Linked DNA regions of Homo sapiens: region 1 is linked to region 2. The links are contacts of gene promoters, found by promoter capture Hi-C in blood cells and fetal thymus (Javierre and others, 2016). All regions are on one chromosome and are shown on one strand. The core of a region is centred on a gene start or on the middle of the fragment in contact, and the rest is flanking DNA. Distances in the headings are between cores, read along the strand shown. Region 1 overlaps TCF7L1 (transcription factor 7 like 1). Region 2 holds the start of KCMF1 (potassium channel modulatory factor 1).

The links. The method cuts DNA at HindIII sites, captures the fragments that hold promoters and counts their contacts. A CHiCAGO score of 5 or more calls a contact.
Region 1: a contact is called between a fragment that was not itself captured here and the fragment with the promoter of KCMF1 in region 2, in 2 of 17 cell types (M1 macrophages and M0 macrophages). The highest score is 7.1, in M1 macrophages.

What each region holds. Positions count from the first base shown.
Region 1 is chr2:85,276,161-85,281,433 of GRCh38, reverse strand. The region is part of intron 3 of TCF7L1 (transcription factor 7 like 1); the gene reads right to left. Among named protein-coding and RNA genes, the nearest start is that of TGOLN2, 49 kb to the left of the region's middle. The HindIII fragment of the contact is 3,109 bases long and covers 536-3,644 here.
Region 2 is chr2:84,969,110-84,974,435 of GRCh38, reverse strand. It overlaps KCMF1 (potassium channel modulatory factor 1), which reads right to left and starts at 3,275. Exons shown (of 7, transcript NM_020122.5): 1 at 2,969-3,275. The coding sequence starts at 2,984. RefSeq lists enhancers at 1-2, 4,269-4,348 and silencers at 2,401-3,490, 3,521-3,770. The HindIII fragment of the contact is 10,310 bases long and covers 16-5,326 here.

The DNA of each region.
Region 1 (5,273 bases), core at 841-3,340, 310 kb before region 2:
GCTACATTTGCACTTGTCAAAGCATTTTCACACACAAAACCCAGTGTAATCTGCACATCAACCCTGCAATGACAAGTAGGGGTGACTATCCCAAATTTTAAAAGGAGCTAGGCCGGGCGCAGTGGCTATGCCTGTAATCCCAGCACTTTGGGAGGCCAAGGTGGGCAAATCATTCGAGGTCAAGAGTTCAAGACCAGCCTGGCCAACATGGTGAAACCCCGTCTCTTACTAAAAATACAAAAATTAGCTGGGCATGGTGGCGTGTGCCTGTAGTCCCACCTTCTTGGGAGGCTGAGGCAGAAGAATCACTTGAACCCAGGAGGCGGAGGTTGCAGTGAACCGAGATCACACCACTGCACTCCAGCCTGGGTGACAGAGTGAGACCTTGTCTCAAAAAAAAAAAAAAAAAAAAAGGAGCTAATGGACATAAACAAAGGCTAAACGCTTCCCCAACTTCATACAAGACAGCTGGAGCTGGAGCCTAGGTCTCTGGACTTCAAATCCCACACCTTGCACAAGACCAAGTCACGAAGCTTTTCCTAAGACTGTCTTCCTCAACTCTCCACCCGCAGCCTTCTCTTTGCTCGGATGTGTTTTCTCTCTCCTTCTCTGTCTTGCACGGGGCTGGCCACCCAGAAACAGAATGGGTCCATGCATGTCAGTGTTCTCCTGGAGGGATGCTGAAGGTGCCCAGAGCTTGCACTTGAAGCCTAAACACCACACTCGTTTTTCTAGAAGCAACAACTTGAACATTTCTGGTTTTAAAAATTAAACTACAATAACAACTACCAGGTGCTAAAGAGAAGTATCCCAAATCTATACCCCCTAATATTAAACAGGATAGATGGGTACCTAAAAATCCATCAACTCTACCAGCATCTGCCCCCTATTTAGGGCCACAAAGACACACATTCATTCTTGTTGGCTTACCAGGGATGTCCTTAGATCATATGGGGGTGGTCCAAAGAAATGTAAACCCTAGTCTGGGATGGTGCTAGAGTTTTGGGTCTTAAATAATCCTCTCAAGTGACCTTATAGATTGTCTGGCAGAGTCGGCTTGTAGGACTGTAGTGCAGGGTTTCTCAGGCTCAGCACTATGACATTTTGGGCTGGATACTTTTTTTATTGGGGGTGGTGGGCTGTCCTGGAAAGTTTAACAACATCTTTGGCCTCTAACTATAATACTAAATGCCGATGCACTCCCATATAGATCATCAGAAATATCTCCAGATTTTGCCAAATGTCTCCTGGGGCTGAGGGAGAGAATCTTCCCTCCCGCAACTGAGAATCACTGCTCTAGTGGCCAAGGAGCTGGCACCCAATAGACTGCAAGCTCCATGAGGGTTTGTCTGCCTTGGTGCTGGGGATATCAAGGTACAGGTACATTTATGTATGCTTGTATTTTGTACACACATTCATAGTAAGGGTTTTCAGTAACAGCCACTCTTTTGGGTGTCTGACCATGTACTTGTTTTATCTATGTAACAAGAAGTCTTGGCTTCTGCTGGGAGGAGACCACACTGGTCGTGCCTACCACTGATACCTGGCCCCTTACAGACAAGTCAGGCAGTGTGAGGGAAAAGACCAGAAGGGAGAGGTGGTCCTGGGAACAGTGAGCATCTCACCGGGACTGACCCTGCTCCAGCCATGCCTGGGGTGGTGCAGGGGCGGTGTGTAGGGAGGGACTCACTCTGGGAGGCAGGAGTGTGGAGGATCGTGACTTTCCCTTTTCTATTTGTCTTTTTAAGTTTTGGAGATGAGTGACGGGGGGAGGAGGAAGAGCTCTAAGACTTTGGAGCCCCTACAGCTTGGCCATGGACGGCCTCTGCATCACAACTCTGAGGAAAGGACAGTTGAACTTCCCAGAACCGTGAATTGGGGCAGCAGGAGCCAGTGACAACCCTTGTAATCCTCTTCCACTGCAGTACTAGACATTTGAAGATGGCCAGGTAGTTCTGAATTCCTAGCATCAGGCCTAGCCCAACTAGAGTGGAAATAAAGTGCTTCTGTTTATTTATTTATTTTTATTTTTTATTTTTAGAGATGGGGGTCTTGCTACGTTGCCCAGGCTCGTCTTCAACGCCTGGGCTCAAGCAATCCTCCCGCCTTGCTCTCGCAAAGTGCTGGGATTACAGGTGTGAGCCACCATGCCCAGCCAATAAAGCTCTTCTTAGCTGTAAGGCCAACCCCACGATCACCCTGAGGGCAATCACTCATGGGTGGGAGCATGTCCTTGGGGAAGTAAGTGATGGCTGACTGTGCTTAGATTCTTTGCATGGTAATGGTATGTGGGCAGGTTAAAACTGCTGGTTTCTCCATGCCCAGTCTAGGCTACATTTAACTGGCTCTGCAAGGCCCAGCTCCTGACCAGTGTGTCGTGGCTGGGCTTCAGCCCACAGCGAAGATGTGTACACGGGCTGGTCCAGCCACCTCCCTCCTGGGGGATGCCCACCGGAATGTAACACATTGAAATGGTGATGAATGGCATCAATGCAACTGATGGCCTGGCAATAGCGATCGCTCCCACTTCTGGGGTGCTTTCTATGGGTTAAATACCCGCTTTTGGATGCTCAAAAATAGAAAGGAAAACACCAAACCCAAACGGCAGGTACTACTGTCTTCGATTTACATATGTTGTGACTATCTAAGACAGGACAGATACACAGTTTTCCAATCTCACTGAATCTGAGAAACACTTTTCTGGGGACTGGGGTTCTGCTACTGTGGTTCACAGTTAAGTAGACTGAGGCTGTGGTTTAAAACATGTCTTTACCTCATTAAGGAAGGATGATTCTAATCCTATTTTTACATTGTTTTCATTGGAGCAGTTGTTGCATTTTTCTCTCGGCATTTACCAAAATGGTCATGTGGTTTCTCTTATTTGACTCATTTATGAGATGTATATATAGCAATAGATTTTCTTACATGAAGGCATTTTTGCATTTCCCAGGTAAGCCCTATTTGGTCATGGTGGTTTGTTCCTTCTTACGCTGTATTGTGGAATGCTAGTCATGTTTTAAATTTTTGACTTTTACATTCCTAAGTAAAGGTGAACAAAGTTTTCTTTTCTTTGGGTGACATCTTTATCGAGTGTTGCCATCAGTGTCCTTGTGGCTTTATTATTCAGAGGGGCTCTGCTCCTCTCTTTCTCAATGTTTTGGGCCCCTCCTTAGAGCCCTCCTTGGGGCGAGCACTTGGCCAGGCGGGCTGTTTCTGCTCAACGTGGATCTCGGGAAGGGTCCCTCTGAAGGATGCTGTCACTAGAGAGCTAGAGCCCCCTTTCCTGCAGGAAGGCGGAGAATCCATCCTACAGAATCCTTGCTTTGATTGGAGCCATGGAGCAGATTAATTGCAGCTGTGCCCTGGAATTTCCCCAACACACAAATCTTCGTGATGTAAAACAGCTGGGAGGAAATCCCAGCATGCCCTGTACAGAGGCAGGACTGCCAATGAGCTACGGAGATTAACCCTCCGGCTCCCAGAAGGTAGGGAGGGCCCCGCCCCAGCCGTCCTCACCCTGTCCCACACTTGCTTAGTGTGGACAGGACTCTACAGGGCTCGGGGGAATGCCCACATTCTCCCTGTTCGCACGTTCTCACAGAAAAGCCTTTAAGCAGGGCCTGGGCAACAGAGGAAACAAAGCTTCATGTTACAGAATCCACAGCTCCCCACAGTTGCATGCAAGGAAAACAAGTCAGCTCCAAAAACTGCACAGGTGAGAAAACTCCAGCCCAGAGAACGCCTTCCGCTGCTTCTAGAGGAAAGGCCCAGTAGGCAGAGAAAGCGCCCCTTGCTCCAGCCCCATGGTCTCGCCCATTTTTGGCCACTTGCCCATCAGCAGACACAAAGGGTCCCAGTTTTGGTGACCGGTCCTTCCTGCCTCTCTGGACCCCTATGGTAAACAGTGACTTTGGGGACCTAGAGCCAGGATCCCCTTTGATAGAGAAGCAAGGGTTGCCCAGGCTTTTCGGGAGATGTAAAGTCCCAGTGCCACCCAGAACCCAAGGCTACACCCAAACTCCGGGTGCAGGTGGCTTCCCACCACAGTGACAATAACATTATTCAAAATGCTCTCCTTGTCCTCTTAGAAACTCTATGTAACAGGAACCTATACTATAACCGTACTATAAATGAAAAATGTGAAGAAGCGATCCGTGTCTCCCCGTCTCCATTCTGCCACAGTTGCAGTCGTTTCTTGCCTGGACTACTGCAAATCCTACCAGAGTCAGCCTTCTAAACACCAGTCACATCTCTCCCCTGCTCAGAACACTTCCCTGGTTGGTTTCTGGGGTCAAGAGATAAAGCCCCCAAACTCACCAGCAATCCCACACCACCCTATCCTTCTGGCTTCCACCCTCACCGCCCCCCACCCCAGCTGCACAGAGTCCTCACTGCACTCTGAACGCACCATGCTGCCCTGCTGCTCCCCGGCCTGCTACGGCCTTTACTGCATCCTTCACTCGTGGGAAACTTTAACCCCTCTTCTTCAAAACCCATTTCCTCCCAAGGTCACCCTCCCTGGCATGAAGCCTCCATGAGTCTGTCGCTCTCGAGAAGCGGTACACGGTGTTTCCATAGCACTCACCAGGCTACTCCTCCCCATTTGCACACTCTGTCTGCCCTTGGGACGGTAAGCTCCTCAAGGGTCATGCTGCACCTCAATTCCTCACCCAGAACCCGGCAATCATGATGTGTTGAAACCCTGTCCCATGCTGTATTAATGCCGTGAGCTTAGGCCCAGTTTCCACATCTGTAACGAGGGGTTGAACAGCCTCTGCCTGAAGCCTTTAGAGCAGGGGAGAGATGTGACTGGTGTTTAGAAGGCTGACTCTGGTAGGATTTGCCGTAGTCCAGGAAAGAAACGACTGCAACTGTGGCAGAATGGAGACGGGGAGACACGGATCGCTTCTTCACATTTTTCATTTATAATACGGTTATAGTATAGGTTCCTGTTACATAGAGCTTCTAAGAGGACAAGGAGAGCATTTTGAATAATGTCATTGTCACTGTGGTGGGAAGCCGCCACACAGGAGCCCATTTCACTCATGGGCAACGCCTGCTTCTCACAGTAACTGGCTTAGTCTGCCGAGAATACGTAAATGTAGCATGGAGGCTGGGATGCCCAACTTGGCCAGTTCTTGGAGACCTGTTTCTATCTTCTGTACTAAAGTTCACAAATGGATCTAAGTTTGAAAATACACTGACACTGAGCAATGAACTCAGGAATAGGGAGACAGAAAAGCTTTCCCAATTGGGAAAACATTTTTAGTTTT
Region 2 (5,326 bases), core at 2,026-4,525:
TTGAGCCTTCAAGCTTGACAGGTGTCCATCTCAGGACTGTGTCATCCAAAGTTACATTAATAAAATCATAGGATTTAGTGTAATTCATTAGGGTGGGTACAAAGACAAAGTAACATATTACCTGCACACATAAGGCCCTGAAAAGGAAGCACCAAGCAAGTACAACATGATAGGCTTGTTCAAACCTTTTACCAGACTATTATATCCAGTTCAGGATCACACTACTGAAAGGAAATGAGAACTACAGAGAATTTGGAGGTGGACAGATGACTGAGAGTGCAAAAATTACACCACTAAAGAAACACGGAGGCTGGGCGTGGTGGCTCACGCCTGTAATCCCAGCACTTTGGGAGGCCAAGGCGGGTGGATCACCTGAGGTCAGGAGTTCAAGACCAGCCTGACCAACATGATGAAACCCGATCTCTACTAAAAATACAAAAATTGGATGGGTGTGGTGGCAGGCGCCTGTAATCCCAGCTACTTGGGAGGCTGAGGCAGGAGAACTGCTTGAATCTGGGAGGTGGAAGTTGCAGTGAGCCGAGATCACGCCACTGCACTCCAACCTGGTGACAGAGTGAGACTCCAGCTAAAAAAAAAAAAAAAAAAAAAAGAAAGAAATAAAGAAAAAGAAAGAAAGAAAGAAATGCTGAAAGAAATGGGATTCTTTGGCCCAAAAAAGGCAAAGGTAAGAAAAGAACTAATAGCAAGGGTGCCAAACACTGTATTTACTGATAGGTCAAAGTCTTACTGATGACAATAATGACAGTCTGAACTAATATTCCACAAAATATGTATCTAATGAGTTAAATGTGATTCGTGAGACTGCTATTCCTGTCTTAGGCCATAAACTAGACCCTTGAAAGAGAATCACTTGTCGAATATTGTACTATAAGTCTTCAACAGATGTATTTAGGTATGTTCCTTTTTCATTAGGTATGTTCTATTTACTGACATTAACATAAGTTACTAGGAAAGGTGTGCTACTAGTGTGCTGAGGTTCAGCAATATTCAAGTAACTAAAAGGTAATATAAGTTTCATAACCACACACCTTTGCACAGCACCAAATGGGGGGAAATGGGCTTAAATTACAGAATATATGTTACATTCAAGAATGTTCCAAATATGAGATTTTAATTACTCTAACAGAGCACTGGGGGTGAAGGAATTTTCTTCCCAGGACACTTCAATTAGAATGCTCGTCTGGAACTATCTGTATGCTTTCTTAGACCAAGGAGAATGGGTCTGAAACACTCTTCCATGGCTGTGATTCTCTAACTAACCCTCCCAGTTTTCAAGAGTAAGAGAGCTTGCAGCCATTGCTCACTTTTGTTTTGTCTTGAAGGTGGTCAATGTACACAGGACTACAGTTTAAGATAAACTTTAATATCCCAAATTGAAAACTGATTATAACTTTAATTACGAGTTCTTAAAATTACAGAGATAAGGATACATTTCGATTAAGCAGACGAAGTGGGGAAAAGAGGCATAGCTTCCTACTTCTGTGTCCCTTTCAATGAGGCTAGGTACCTCATTATTTCAAAATGCCCAACACTTGAACACTGTAAGTACTCAACAAATGCTTTGCGAAGAAAATATAGTATATTTCATATTAGTTTTGTAACTTTTAAAATACAGAATCGTTGAACACAGAATGTTGAGTCAATTTCAACGTCGCAATTAGTAATGCGAATTTTGAAACTTGTTCTAAATACAATTTTAATCAATCTGAGTTTTTCAGCCTTGAAATTCTAAGGTCCGTATTTCCCAAAGAATATCCTTCCCATAGTGCTAAGCACACACTAAACTGACTCACTAAACTTTCTCCACTCCTACATCACCTATACAGGATTTTAAAATCCGGAGTACACAAACTTTCAAGCCACTTCTACAATCTTGTATTAACCTTAGCAGGACAAACTTTTCGCCAAGACTCTTAACACTTTTTATCCAAAAACCTGTAGTAGTGAAACAAAGAAAACACAACCCCCTCCTCCTTTTCTAAACCATATGGCAATAAATTAAAGTTAACTTATTTCTTACCAGCTCAAAGCCTATACATCGACCCTAAACATTTGTCTCTTTGTGCCCTGGGACTGGGCTTAGAGCTGTCTGCTTATTTGCAACTGTACTCCAATCGTGTTTTAAAATGGCAAAACAAGGTCCAAAACGACCCCCGACCATGAACAGACCTCACCATCGTCATTTTCCAAAACCTGGTCTGGTAGGCAGCACATGCCGGCGAGGGCACCAGGGCCGCGGGGAGCGAGCCCTGCTCCGCCTGGGTGACTGAGCAGGGAGTTTGCTTGCTGCGGCGGGGTCGGATCCACCCCGGGAACTTGGTTACCCGAGCCCAGGGACGCGCCGAGGCCTAGCCGCGAGGCCGGGGCGGGCTCCAGGCGGCGAGGGCTTCCCGTCCCTTGGCCGCAGAGCCTTCCCGCCAGCCCCGCGGTCGCCCGCAGGCGGGGACACTCGCCGTCGTCTCCCGGCGACCGGACGCGCCTGCCGGGTCCCGGGCCGGCTCTTTTGCCTCCTGCTGCCGCCCGCGGCCCGGCTCTGCGACCACACCGGGCTCTTCCGGGGCGGCGGGAGCGCTAGGCCGCGCTGGGGCCCGCGGCTCCTGAACCGGCCGGGCGGGCCTTGGCGTCCGGTATCAGTCCCGAAGGCCGAGCTCCCGCCGGTAACGGGCCCCGCCGCCTCCCCTCCCCCTCCGCCCCATGACAGTGCAAACCCTCCGGCCGCCCGGGCCGCCCCGCCTCCAGCACCAGGCCCAGCTAAGGGCCGCGGCCGTGGCGGCAGCGGCGCCGCGGCTCTCCGCCCTCGCTCGCTCGCTCCCGGGTCCAGCGCCTCGGGCCCGGCTCGGGCTCGGCCAAAGTCTCCGCCGCTTCCCGGCCGCCCTCCGCCGCGCCCGGCCCGGGCGGGGTAGGCCGAGGCCCGGGAGGTGCGGGTGGGGGCGGGGGCTCCTCTCACCTTCATGTCGGGACATCCTAGTTCAGACGGTGGCGGCGCGGCCCCTCCCGGGCTCCGGCTGCAGTGTCCCCCGCGGGGTCCCGGCGCTGCCCGCGCCGGCCGGCCGACTCCCACTCGACTCCCGGGCTCGGCCGCGGGGGCGGGGTGGGCAGGGGAGCGCTCCCGCGGCGGCGGCGGCGGCGGCGGCGGGGAGGCGGCGCGGGGCGGGAATGGGGCCGGGCCTGGTCGGGGCTGAGCTCCTCCAGGAGGCGGGTCCGACGCCGCAGCTCCGCCGGCGCCCGCCGTGACTCCGGTCACTCTCGGGCCTGCCGGCTCCCGGCAGCGGCGCGGCGCTCCGCAAATCCCGCTCCTCCCCTCCCCCGGCCCACCCCCCGCCCCTCTCCCCCGGCTCCCGGCCGCCGCCTCCTCCTCCTCCTCTTCCTCCTCCTCCGCCTCCTTCCGCCGCCCGCACGCCAGCCCCGCCTCTCGCTGCCCTCGCCGGGCCCAGCCGCCCGGAGGCCCCGCGGCCGGCGGTCGCGACGGGGGCGACGCGGCGACGGCGGCTCGGGGCGCGGCGCTTGCCCGCGCTAGCCAGCAGGCCGCGATCGGGCGCCCGTGCCCAGCCTCGGCCTGGCCGCCGCCGCCGCCGCCGCGCCGCGCGTAGGGAGGAAGAGGAAATGCCCGGCGCCGGCTCCCGCTGCTCACCGGCGCGGCCCGAGGGGCGCCCGCCCGCCACGCCGCCCCTAGCCCCGCCTGGGGCGGGCCTAGGCCGGGCTATAGGGGCCAGGGCCTTGGGCTGCGCCGGCCGCGGGAGGTGGGTGCTTCTCGGCGGCGAGCTGCGACTCGGAGAGACTCCTGTCCGCAGGTGCATGGCTTCCGGGCGGGCCTCGGGCAGCGAGCTCCAGCCCCACTGAGAGGCCGCGGACCGCCTGGGGACTTGTGTTTGTGTGTATTTTAAGCCAACAGCCCAGAAAGGGAAGGCGACTGGCCCCCGGTCTTCGCCAGTGTTTCCCGGCCGGGTTACTGGTGGTCAGGAGGGAAGCCAGGAGGCTGCCGGGCTCCGAGGCCGATTCCTTGCGAACCATCTCCGTTAAAGACTCCGCGCCGGGCAGCCCGGGAGTCCGGCGGTACCCGCGCAAACTTTGTCCCAGCGCCTTGGCTCACCGTGAATGCCCTGCCTTGAAAATTTGGAGTTTTTTGTTTCCTGAAAGTGGTCTGCTTTTCCGATTTTATCTGTGTTTTCCATTTTTACCTTCTTATTGTCAATTTGTTTTCAGGCATTATTAATTCAACAAATCTTTGTACTGCCCCTTACCACGTGTCGATGGTTCCGTGGTTTGGTGGAAATAGATCGCGCTTTGAAGTCAAGACGGATCGGCCATGGAATTTTGGCTCTGAGATCCTCTGTGTAACCGTGGATGAGCTACAAGGCCTGCTGAGCCTCCATTTGTCTGGTTTTTGTGGTTGTTTTAATTTATCTTTTTCCATTTGAAGTTGTGGGTTTTGCATAAAATTGAACTGTTACCAGGCTAAGTCAACTGAAATTGGAATCTGGGGTACTGCTTGCTTTGAGGTTACTCTTATACTGTCCACCATTTGCTGGCTGTGTGATCTCTAAACCTCTCTGTGCCCTGACTTTTCTATCTTTAAAATGGACGTAACAACAGAGGTTTAATAATAAGAGGTTTGGAGGTTAAGTGCTAAAATGCATATAAAATACCTAGCACAGGACACAGTAAAAAGATTGTTACCGTATTTCATTGAATCTGGTTTTAAGACACTTCCTGATTTCAAAGAAACTAAAAGCTCATCTTGAAGTCCAGGAAGTAGGTTTTGGGTCACTCAGAACTCCCAAGGGACTGTATTTGGTAGTAACTAGTGATAAACAAACTGGAGTTTAAATGAGGACTTTGTCACCAGAGATATTTTTATTGCCTGTATGGAGCTCCTGCACAAATTTATTCCATTTCTCTTGTAGAAAGAGATCCAACCTGGCCGTAAATGGGGTGTGGTGGAGTAGAAAGAAGGGTATTAAGTAAAGCTCTGTGTCGATGCCTTTCTGAGCATTTTACGGTGTTGGCATATGTGATCCTGGGTATCAGGAGCCTCAATTTCTTGGGCTGTAAAAATGGGGAGAACAACGCTGATCCCATTGTCTCCTGATGGGTAAGTGATGTCTATAAATAAATTGTATAGAGATTAAGGCATTATCAGTGCTGTAGTCTGATAAAATGGTGGAGCAGATAGGAAAGCCTACAACAGTACTGAACTGCAGGAGGGACTAAGAGTAAATATAGAGATTTCATTTGCTTGGTTTTGCAGAGGGTTAGCTAACTAAACAGATAACTTTGTTTTCGACAGTTACTTCATTTTTTTCAG